4 separate regions of the Homo sapiens genome follow, and regions 1, 2 and 3 are each linked to region 4. Evidence: promoter capture Hi-C in human tissues and cell types (Jung and others, 2019). All regions are on one chromosome and are shown on one strand. The core of a region is centred on a gene start or on the middle of the fragment in contact, and the rest is flanking DNA. Distances in the headings are between cores, read along the strand shown. Region 1 overlaps LOC124904260 (a long non-coding RNA gene). Region 2 has its middle 60 kb from the start of CTAGE1. Region 3 has its middle 52 kb from the start of CTAGE1. Region 4 holds the start of CTAGE1 (cutaneous T cell lymphoma-associated antigen 1).

What was found. The method cuts DNA at HindIII sites, captures the fragments that hold promoters and counts their contacts. A contact is called where the count stands out against the background at its distance.
Region 1: a contact is called between a fragment that was not itself captured here and the fragment with the promoter of CTAGE1 in region 4, in 2 of the 25 tissues and cell types used here (dorsolateral prefrontal cortex and mesenchymal stem cells).
Region 2: a contact is called between a fragment that was not itself captured here and the fragment with the promoter of CTAGE1 in region 4, in 3 of the 25 tissues and cell types used here (dorsolateral prefrontal cortex, mesenchymal stem cells and mesendoderm cells).
Region 3: a contact is called between a fragment that was not itself captured here and the fragment with the promoter of CTAGE1 in region 4, in 1 of the 25 tissues and cell types used here (adrenal gland).

The regions. Positions count from the first base shown.
Region 1 is chr18:22,459,105-22,461,804 of GRCh38, forward strand. All of the region lies in intron 2 of LOC124904260 (a long non-coding RNA gene), which reads right to left. Among named protein-coding and RNA genes, the nearest start is that of CTAGE1, 43 kb to the left of the region's middle. The HindIII fragment of the contact is 3,214 bases long and covers 1-2,700 here.
Region 2 is chr18:22,476,098-22,478,797 of GRCh38, forward strand. No RefSeq gene overlaps it. Among named protein-coding and RNA genes, the nearest start is that of CTAGE1, 60 kb to the left of the region's middle. The HindIII fragment of the contact is 7,194 bases long and covers 1-2,700 here.
Region 3 is chr18:22,364,077-22,366,776 of GRCh38, forward strand. No RefSeq gene overlaps it. Among named protein-coding and RNA genes, the nearest start is that of CTAGE1, 52 kb to the right of the region's middle. The HindIII fragment of the contact is 5,109 bases long and covers 1-2,700 here.
Region 4 is chr18:22,416,545-22,419,244 of GRCh38, forward strand. It overlaps CTAGE1 (cutaneous T cell lymphoma-associated antigen 1), which reads right to left and starts at 1,371. Exons shown (of 1, transcript NM_172241.3): 1 at 1-1,371. The coding sequence starts at 1,267. It also overlaps the pseudogene ATP7BP1. The HindIII fragment of the contact is 3,989 bases long and covers 1-2,024 here.

The DNA of each region.
Region 1 (2,700 bases), core at 21-2,520, 42 kb after region 4:
ATGGGTAGTATTCAAAAAGGAACACACACAGTATCTATAGATGAAAAGAGAATGAATGAAACAAGAAAAGCAAATAAATTAGGTTTAAAAAAGCTTTACAGCCGGGGGCGGTAGCTCACGCCTGTAATCCCAGCACTTTGGGAGGCCAAGGCGGGCGGATCACGAAGTCAGGAGATCGAGACCATCCCGGCTAACACCGTGAAACCCCATCTCTACTAAAAATACAAAAAATTAGCCAGGCATGGTGGCAGGCGCCTGTAGTCCCAGCTTCTCGGGAGAATGGTGTGAACCCAGGAGACGGATCTTATGGTGAGCCGAGATTGAGCACTGCACTGCAGCCTGGCTGACAGAGCAAGACTCTGTCTCAAAAAAAAAAAAAAAAAAAAAAAGCTTCACTAGAAAAATATTGCCACAAAACAGATGACATTTATGACCCAACATACTTTCATGAATTTAAAAAGAAAAGAAAAAACTTAGTGAAACAATCGCCTTTAAAAAACAGGAGCTCAAAAAAACATATACAGTAGTTTAGGAAATATTTAGCAAGACAATGGGAAGTGAAACATAAGTTGGCAGAACTTAGCAAAAATGACAACCTAGAAACCAAGACCACAGTGGAAGCAGCAGAACGGAGACTCAGATTCTGCTGGAAACTGACCATATCCAAGTCCACAAAGAACATGTTACTAAACTTCAGAAATTAGACTGAGTCCAGAAAAGCTTCTCTGATCACAAAGCAATTCATTTAAAAACTAATAATAAAATAAGGAAGGAGAAAAATTCTACCACCTGGAAATGCTAAAATATTCTTTCATGTGCAACTCTTCCATTAGGGATATATTTTTAAAAATAAAAATAATTAAGGGTTATATTTTTATAAATGAAAATAATTAAGCTAGTACATATCAGAACCTATGGGACAGAGCTAAAGCAGAATTCTGGAAAAAACTTAAAGGTTTAATATTTATATTAATTTAACTGAAAGAAAGAAAACACCTAGGTATATATTTTTTAAAGCTAACATTTTGGTAAAAAGGAATGTGAGATGTGGGCAAAAAAAAAGAGATAAAAATAATTTTGAAAAGTGTAAGAGTAAAAATTTAACACAAAGTGTAAGTCATATAAAATGTAACTTTAAAACGTTATTGAGGAGAAAAAAATGAAAGAAATGGAAAGGCATGACATATTCTTAAGTAGGAAGACTTAAAGCAAAAAATTTAACTCTCCCAATGATATCTATAAATGGAATTTGAAGCCAATAAAAATATAGGATTTTAAAAAGCTAGATAAGCTGTTACTAAAACTTATAAGAAAAATCAACAGACATTCCATGTCTGGTAATAATGGACTTAGTTATTTAGATTAATTCTTGCAGTTAAAACAATGAATATTTGGATAACATATTAAACAAACTTGATTTTAAAAGCACTGAAAAGCTGACAAGATAATCAGGACTTCCCAAGTGATTAGGTTTTGCCCTGATTGGATTTTGCCCGTGGTTGATCAGGTTAAGTTGAGTTGGCTGTGGTTTTCATGGACTCTCAGAATGAAGAATACGGAAGTCAAAGGCCAAGACTCACCCAAGGTAGGAAGGAGGGTCTCATAGGAGACTCTTGCCTCACATTAAGCTGTGAGTCTGAAGGGGTTCACCTTCAGGGTAAGGACAAACCAAAGGTGAACCTGCTCCCCTTCCCACTACCCCAGGGGACCATGGGAGAGTTACCTTGACACTAAGCAAAGCAGAGAAAAGAAAAAGAAAACCCGTCCCTGATAGGACGTCATCACTGAATCATTGGCTGGCAGTATTTGCCCATATGCTGCTCAAATACATGTCTTTGGGATGAGCCAAGAAACTTTGAGCTATGAATTTAAAGTGATACACAACTACAGTACCCCCAAGCACCTGGCAGAAGCAAGCTCTAATCATCTCTGGAGGCAGATACTTTCATCCTAGGCCTCGAGGATTTTGTATAAATGGTTTCTCAAGGGCAGTAAGCAGTACAGTTGAAGATTACTAAACTCAGAAAACAAAGCACCAATAGTTAATGTCAGCAAAATAGACAGCAGAGGCGAGTTAGACAACTGCAGCTGTTTGAATGACCAGACACAGAGTACAAAGAGCTATGTTAATTTTATTTAAATAAATGTAAGGTAAGCTTTAAAATATCTGCAAGAAATAGTCAACAATAAAAATTGACATTGTGGGTTAGAAAAAGATCAACTAGCACTTCTAAAATTAAAAATAGAGTAACAGAAATTGAAAAGTCAGTGAATGGGTATGGTGGCAGATTAGACACTGTGGAAGACAGAATTAGAGAACTGAAGATAATGTGAATAAATTATACAGAATTATAGTGCAAAGAGGCAAAGAAATGAAAAATATAGGAGAGTGGTAAAGAGACGTAGAGGACAGAGAGAGAAGGTCTCTTTTTTCCAAGATGGTCTTTCTTCTCTTTCAAAAGTGTAATTGTTATTTCAGAAGATGAGAAAAAAGTGAGGTGGTAGGTTATTGAAAGAACAATAATAACTATTAAAGATAAGTGAAAAGAAATTTGCATCAAGGCACATCACAAAGAAATTGCAGAATACATAAACAAAGAGAAAATCTAAAAAGCAGCTAGCTAGAGTTGGGGTGCAGTGGAGTGTGATGATTAATGAATAAGACTACCCTACCAGGTGTCAAATGCATTGTAAAGTGGT
Region 2 (2,700 bases), core at 74-2,573, 60 kb after region 4:
ATCATGTTAAACACTACATTCTATGAGTCTTTCACTGTTCAGAGCATGGAAAATGTGTGGCATGTCATAAAAGTTAAGGCAATTCGAAGTGTTAACAAATCCAAAATTTCTAAGGCTTAAGACAAGAGAAGTTTATTTCTTGTCCAGTCACTAATTGGTTATGAGAGCAGGAGTGCTCTGCTTCACACATAACATTCAGGAACCTGGGCTGAGAAAGGCTCTTCTGTACTCAACGTGTAACTTCCCAAGTCATCCTAGATGTCAGCAACCTGCAGGAAGACATAGGAAGAGAGCGAATGGTGAGTTTTCAATGGGAGCTTTTTATGGGCCAGGCCTGGAAAGGATGTTCCTCACTTCCACTCCTATGTTATCGGCCAGAACTCAGTCTCATGGCCACACCGAACTGAAAGGGAGGCAGTGTAGCTGTGGGCCCAGGAAGAAGGGGAAATGGGTTCTGGTGAACACAAAGCAGTCTTTGCCACCAGAAGAAACCTTGGATAAAACTGGAAACTGGTTGCTTTGTAGTGACAAAGAGATTTGAGTTAGTAAGAGGAGAGCTAGCATTTGAATGTCATATTCAGAGCAGATAAAAACCCGATTGTTGGGAGGGGGGTTAAGACGGCTGACTAAAGGTTCTGGTACTCATCACTTCCACAAAGAAGAACCAAAATTGCAAGTAGATAATCACACTTTGAATAGATCATCTAAGAGATAAAACTGGAATTCAACAGAAAAGTGTCAGGAAACATCTAAGGCAAGGAAAGAGGGGCTAAAAAAAAAAAAAAAAAAAAAGGAAGGAGAAGGAAGCCAGGCAGCTTGCTCAGCTGGGATCAGCTGGGAACCAGAAGAGGCTTCTCAATGCAGGTAAAAGGTAAGTAAGTGATCCCCAACACCCAACACTCCACATTCCCACTCTGAGCTCCTGCATTCCGAGCCATGGAAGAGCCCCTCGACTCTCCCATGCCCTGAGACAAACCTAGAGAGCTGCCTGGAAACTGCACAGTGGCATTGCGCCAGAGATGGAGCTCACATTGGGCCCCCTGCACACCTCAAGTCCTAAGCAGCTTCAGCATGGTGCCATTTTGAGAGCTCAGCCACTGCCAAACTGCATCCTGCCTTGGGGCTCAACAGCCCCTTCATCTTCACATCCCTGGAGCCCCATTGACATCCCATAGGTAGCTGCCATCATTGCTGGCTGCCTCCATTGGGGTCATTGCATGACCACTCACAGTAGCGAGACTGCTACACATAGGCAAGTGCTCTACAGACAGGCTGTTCCACCCAAAGCCACCACCTGGGGCTGAAGTTCATGCATCCCAGCTGCCTGCCTGTGGCTGCTGCCACTGAAAACAACCCTGCCCTCTCCAGCAGTGGGGATGCCACACAGTCACTGCCACCCCCACCTGAACATTCCACTAGGGGCCTGGGGATCACCCCACCCCTTCCTACTACAACCAACACCTGCATGTATCACTGGGAGGCCTGAAGAGATAACTTTACTGTGTATAGTATCCTTATCTGGCAGGTTTGTTTTCAGCACTTTGAATATATCATCCCATGCTCTCCTGGCATTTAAGGTTTCTTCTGAGAAATCCACTGTTAGTCTGATGGGGGTTCACTTGTAAGTGACTAGATGCTTTTCTCTTGCTGTTTTTAGCATTTTCTGTTTGTCTTTGAATTTTCACATTTTGACTACAATATGCCATGGAGAAGATCTTTTAAAATTGCATCTGTTTAGGGATCTCTGAGCTTCCTGTATTTGGACAGCAAAAATGCAAATATTTGATTGCCAGAAAGAAAGAAAAAAACCAAAAGAATATAAAGCTTATTTAATGAAACAACAGCTGAAAACTTCCCAAGTCTACTAAGACATTTAGACATCCAAATACAAAGTTATACTTCATAAGTGAAGGGGAAATGAAGTCTTTCCCAGGTAAACAAAAGCTGAGGGAATTCACCGCCACTAGATTAATCCCACAAGAAATGCCTAAGGGAGTCCTATTCCTGGGAGTGAAAGGACGATATCTACTACCATAAAAACACACAAAAGCGTTAATATAAAACCCACTGGTAGAGCAAACACACAAGTAAGGAATAGAAAGGATGCAAATGTTATAACCACAGAAAACTACCAAGTGACAATGATAAAACGTAAGAGAGAAAGAAAGGATATACAAAACAACCAGAAATCAATTAATAAAATGATAAAAATAAACCCTGACATATCAATAATAACTTTGAATGTAAGTGAATTAAATTTTCCATTTAAAAGATATAGAATGGCTAAGTGAAATTTTTTAAATGACCTAACTATATGCTGCCTACAAAGAAACATGTCTCACCTGTAAAGACATATATAGACTGAAAGTAAAGAGATGGAAAAGTATATTCCGTGCAAATGGAAACCAAAAGAGAGCAGGAGTAGCTACCTTTATATCAGTTAAAACAGACTTTAAGGCAAAAACAGTAAAAAGAGTAAAAGAAGGTTATTATATGATAAAGGGATCAATTCAGCAAGAGGATGTAACAATTCTAAACATACATGCATGCAGCATCAGAGCACTGAGGTATACAAAGCAAATATTATTAGATCTAAAGGGAGAGATGGAATTCAATATAAAAATAGTTGAAGAGTTCAATACCACACTCTCAGTATTAGGCAAATCATTTAGACAGAAACTTTGGATTTAAACTGCACTT
Region 3 (2,700 bases), core at 58-2,557, 53 kb before region 4:
CCTAGTGCCTGGATCTAGCAAGTAGTAGGGGCACAATAAGTATATATCAAGTGAATGAATGAGTTTCAAGCAGAATATACAGCTGACCCTTGGACAACATGGGTTTGAACTGTGTGGGTCCACTTACATGCAGATTTTTCTCAATAAAACTTATGCTAAGTGTGCCTGCCTCCCCTTCCACCTCCTCCTCCTCTTCCGCCTCTGCCACCCCTGACACAGCAAGACCAACCCCTCCTCTTCCTCCTCTTCTGCTACTCAACATGAAGATGATAAAAATGAAGACCTTTATGAGATCCACTTCCACTTAATGAATAGTAAATATATTTTCTCTTCCTTATGATTTTTAATAACTTTTTTCTGTAGCTTACTTTATTGTAAGAATACAGTATGTAACACATATACAAAACATGTGTTCAGCTGTGTATGTTATTGGTAAGGCTTCTGGTCAACAGTAGGCTATTAGTAGTTAAGTTTCTGAGGAGTCAAAAGTCATAGGCATATTTTCAACTGCAGGGGGTTGGGGAGCCAGTGCCCCAACCCCCACATTATTCAAGGGCTTCCTGTAAATATAAATCCAAATCCACACCTTGCCACATCAGAATGAAAACTGCAGAACATGCAGAACTATATTTTATTTATATGTATTTTTATTAATATATCATAGTTGTACTTATTTGGGGGACACATGTGATAGTTTGATACATGTATATAGTATGCAGTGATAAAATGAGGGTGATTGGGATATCAATCACCTCAAATGTTTCTCTTCTTCTTATGTTGGAAACATTACAATTCTTCTATCAATTTATAAATATGCAATAAGGTATTATTCACTATAACTTCTCAACTGCACCATTGAATACTAGAACTTATTGCTTCTATTGAGCTGTATTTTTGCATGCATTAACCAATTTCTCATCATCCTCTCTACCTGCTTTCCTCTGGTAACCACCATTCTACTCTCTCCTTTTTTTTTTTTTTTTTTTGACAAAGACTTACTCGGTCACCCAGGTTGGAGTGCAGTGGTGTGATCATAGCTCACTGTAGCCTTGGCACCCTGGGTTCAAACCATCCTCCCACCTCAGCTTCCTAAGTAGCTGGGATTACAGATGTGCGCCACTATGCCTGGTTAATTTTTTTATTTTTTTGTAGAGTTTTTTTTTTTTTGCCATGTTGCTCAGGCTGGTCTCAAACTCCTAGGTTCAAGCCATCTGCCCACCTTGGCTTCTCAAAGTGTTGGGATTACCGGTGTGAGCCACTACACCCGGCCCATCATTCTACTCTCTATCTCCAAGAGATCCACTTTTTCAGTTCCCACATAGGGATGAGAACATGCAATATTGGCCTTTCTGTGCCTGGCTTATCTCACTGAATATAATAACCTCCAGTTTCATACATGTTGCTGCAAATGCCAGGATTTCATTTTTAATGACTGAATAATATTCCTATATATATATATAAATTCCTATACATATATAAAGAAATGTATGTATATATATCACATTTTCTTTATCCATTCATCACCTTGACTATTATTAATAGTGCTGCAATAAATGTGATAGTTCAGATATCTCTTAGATGTACTGACTTCCTTTCTTTTGGATATATACCTAATAGTGAGATTGCTGGATCATATGGTAGTTCTATTTTTAGTTTTTTGAGGAACCTTTCATAATGGCTGTACTACTTCACATTTCTACTAATGGTGTAGAAGTGTTCCTCTGTCTCTGCATCCTTGCCAGCATTTGTTATTTTTTGTCTTTTTGATTATAGTCATTCTAACTGGGGTGAGATGATATCTCATTGTGGTTTTGATTTGCATTTCCTTGATGATTAGTGATGTTGAGCATTTTTTCATGTACCTGTTGGCCATTTGTATGTCTTCTTTTGAGAAATTTCTATTCGGGTCTTTTGCTCATTTTAAAACTGGATTATTTGTTTTGTTTTGTTTTTTGCTATTGAGTTGTTTGAGTTCCTTATGAATATAGATTATTAATCCTTTGTCAGATGGATAGTTTGCAAATATTGAGAACTAAAATATTAAAAGAATCCAGAGAAGAAAGACAGATTATCGACAAAGGAATGATGATTAGATTGAGAATAGAATTCTCAAAAACAATACCAAAAGATGGTGGGATATCATTAAATTGTGGAAGGCAAAAAATAATTCACCTACAATGAGTACCCAGCTAAGTTATTTAGGAGTAAAAGTAGAATGAAGCAATTGCCAATAATAAATTGGAATCCATGAAAAAGTTACTTAAAAATATACATGTATTGCCCATTTAACTCCAGTAATTCCTCCCCCAAAATCAGACATTCTAAATGAAAATATTACCAAGCCTATTTTTTATTATTTCAAATAGGAAAAATTATACTTCATTACATGATAACCCCAAACCACTAACTATTTCCTAAAATGCAAATCAATACAGTAAAATATTAACATAATAAGCAACAACCATCAAATGTTTAAATAAATAAATGCTTAACGCATCACTTCCTGAGCAGAACACAGTGAACATAGCTATTAAACACTTGTCTGGAGTAATGTCATGATGCTTCTCTTTAGCATCACCAACATATGAGATGTACACTTCGCTGACTCTCAGCGGGCTTTTCAACATGGCTTCCCATGATTCTGACATCGTACCAATTGTATTTGAAATAAAACCCGTGACTCTTCTTGCATCTTGTTTT
Region 4 (2,700 bases), core at 121-2,620:
TAATCTTCTTTTGATAAAAATGAATAGTTTTCTCAAATTCTTTAAGATCTTTGGCTCGCTTTCGGTAGGTCTCCAGCTCTTCAGTGGCATGGCTGATCATTTCGTCTACTTTAGAAAGTTTCTCTTCTTTCTCTAACCGGCATTTTTCCTCTACTATTAATTTCCTGTAGAGTTTCATTTCATTTTCTTGATATAATTCAGTCATTACTTTAAGTTTCTGCTGAAGCTTCTGATTCTCACTTTCAAAATGTGTGTTTTCTGACTGCAAAGATGCTTGTTCAGTCTGAAGATTTTTAATATGCTCTGTAAGCTCTTCCTTTGTTTTATCAACTTCAGATAATTGAATATAAATTTGGTTTCTTTCTCCTTCTAAGGTTTTTAAGGAAGCATTTAACTTAGCAGCATGAATCAGTTTCTTCAAAGCTCCTTTTGGAGGATTATCTAAGTAAGCACCATCTTCCGATTCACTGTTCATTTCTAATTCCAAGTTATCATCATCCGTTACATCTTCTTCAAGCATAGCAACCCCATCTTTCATCTTTAGCAAGCGTTCAGTCAGAGTCTTGATGTGATTTTCTTTATCATTTAGAACTTGTTCTGCATGTACTTTGGAGTCTTCAAATGTTCTTTTCTGTTTAATAAGTTCACTCACTTGTTCTTTCCATACTTCAGCTTCTTGCAAAAGCTGTTTCTGGCTTTCCTGAAGTTCAGAATTTTCTTTCCAAGCATCTTGTATTTCTATCTCCAACCGTTCTTCATTCGCTTGAAATCTCTTGAAGGTCATTTTGGCTTCAGCTACTTGTGATTTGAGGGATTTTGACTCATCTTCTAGCGACTGTATCCTTTTGGAAATATCCGCCATCAATTCATTTTGTTCAGAATGTTTAGATTTCTCTTCTTTTAACTCTTTTTCTAGACAGAGTATTTCATGCACAAGTTCAGAATTGAACCTGTTCAGCTTTTCGCAGGTTGCCTCCAAACTTTGTGCTTCTGTTGCCTCCTTCTCAAAGCTGGCATTCTTTAAAGATGACTCTACTTCATAGCCTTCATACTCTTTTTGAACAAGGCTAAATTTTTCAAGTAGTTTACATTTTTCTTCAATTAGTCCAGAAAGTGCCACAGCAAACTTTTTCTCTCTTCTCACATAAAGCCGACTCGTAACTGATCTAAAACTTCTCCACAAGAAGAGAACAGCAAAAAATCCAGCAACAGCTGCACGTATCACCAATTCCCATGGAAAACCATAAGGATGAGAATCGGGTCTCATACCTTCAGTCAGTGCTGCCACAACCCTGCGTAGCAACTCCAGGACCAGCCCCAGGTATGGCTGAGGGTTAGCCCTAGGCTCCTCCGTAGCGCCAAGGCTGCTCTGGCGGTTGCTGCAGTAACCTCGGCCACAACAAACGCTGGAGAAGACGCAGCATTCCGTTTGGAACCTGAATCCCTAACGGGCAACCGGAGCGTACCACTGCGGAGCCGGCTGCGGGGGGAGTTAGGGGACGCGGGCACCCGTAGGCCTCACAGACCCACACTGCCCACCCCGGTACCTTTGTTACACTTTACATCCTGAGGAAGCGCTAAAACCTATATTTTAAAACAGTACCACATGGTGAGAAAGACTCAGGTGACCCAGCATCCCAGCTATGCCCATCCCAAGCTGACACCCTAGCTAAATGTAGCCTTGTGCATGACCCCAGGTGGGGCGGGCAGAAGAACCTCCCAGCTGACAGAATGATAAGGAATAACAAATCATTGTTTTAAGTCACTAAGCTTTGGGGTCATTTGTTATGCAGCAGTAGCTAACTGAAATACCTGCCCCCTTATCCCTTTGGTGTTTCAGTATCTGTGGCTGAAATAATGAATTTGGGTGCTTGACTAAGATTATGCCCTATGGTAAATTCTGATAGGTAATTTTATAGCTAAAATACAAATTTTCTGATTGACCTTTGCTTCATTGAAGAGATATTTATTTAGCTCCTCCCAAATGAGACAGATTATGCTTTTTAGATTAACTTCTTCCAGGAAAGGGCTCACCACTCCCTAGCATGAGCCTCAGCTGTCCCATGTACAACTGAAAAACGCTAATCTCATCCCCAGAAGATCCAGGACTCTTAGAACAGTGCTGGCACATAGAGAGTGATTCTCTTACCTGTCCATCAAACTTACCTGCTCTGTGTCCATTTCTGAAACACTGGCACTCCTTCAACACGGATGACGCCTTGCCCTGCAATAAGTCATCATCTCCCGCCCATGCACATATCTTCAACTCATCTGGAAAGCTTGCTCCTGCAGCAATGGGTATGCCCACTAGGTTATAAATCAGCGCCAGGACCAGTTTGATGCATATCCTCTGGACAGTCATCTTGGAAATATGAATGCTAGCCACCACATCCAGCAAATCATTTTTGATGAGGATGACGTTGGCTGCCTCGATGACCACATCCGTGCCAGTGCCAGTGGCAATGCCCAAGTCTGCCTGGGCCAAGGCCAGGGAATCATTGACCCCGTCCCCCACCATGGCGACTTTCTTCCCTTCATTCAGGAGCTCCTGAACCTTGGTCACCTTGTGTGAAGGCAACACCTCTGCAAAGACTTTGTTGATGCCAACCTGGGTGGCAAAGGCTCTGACTGTCTTCCAGTTGTCCCCCGTGATCAGAATCACGTTCACATGCATGCTTTGCAGCATGTGCACAGCCAGGG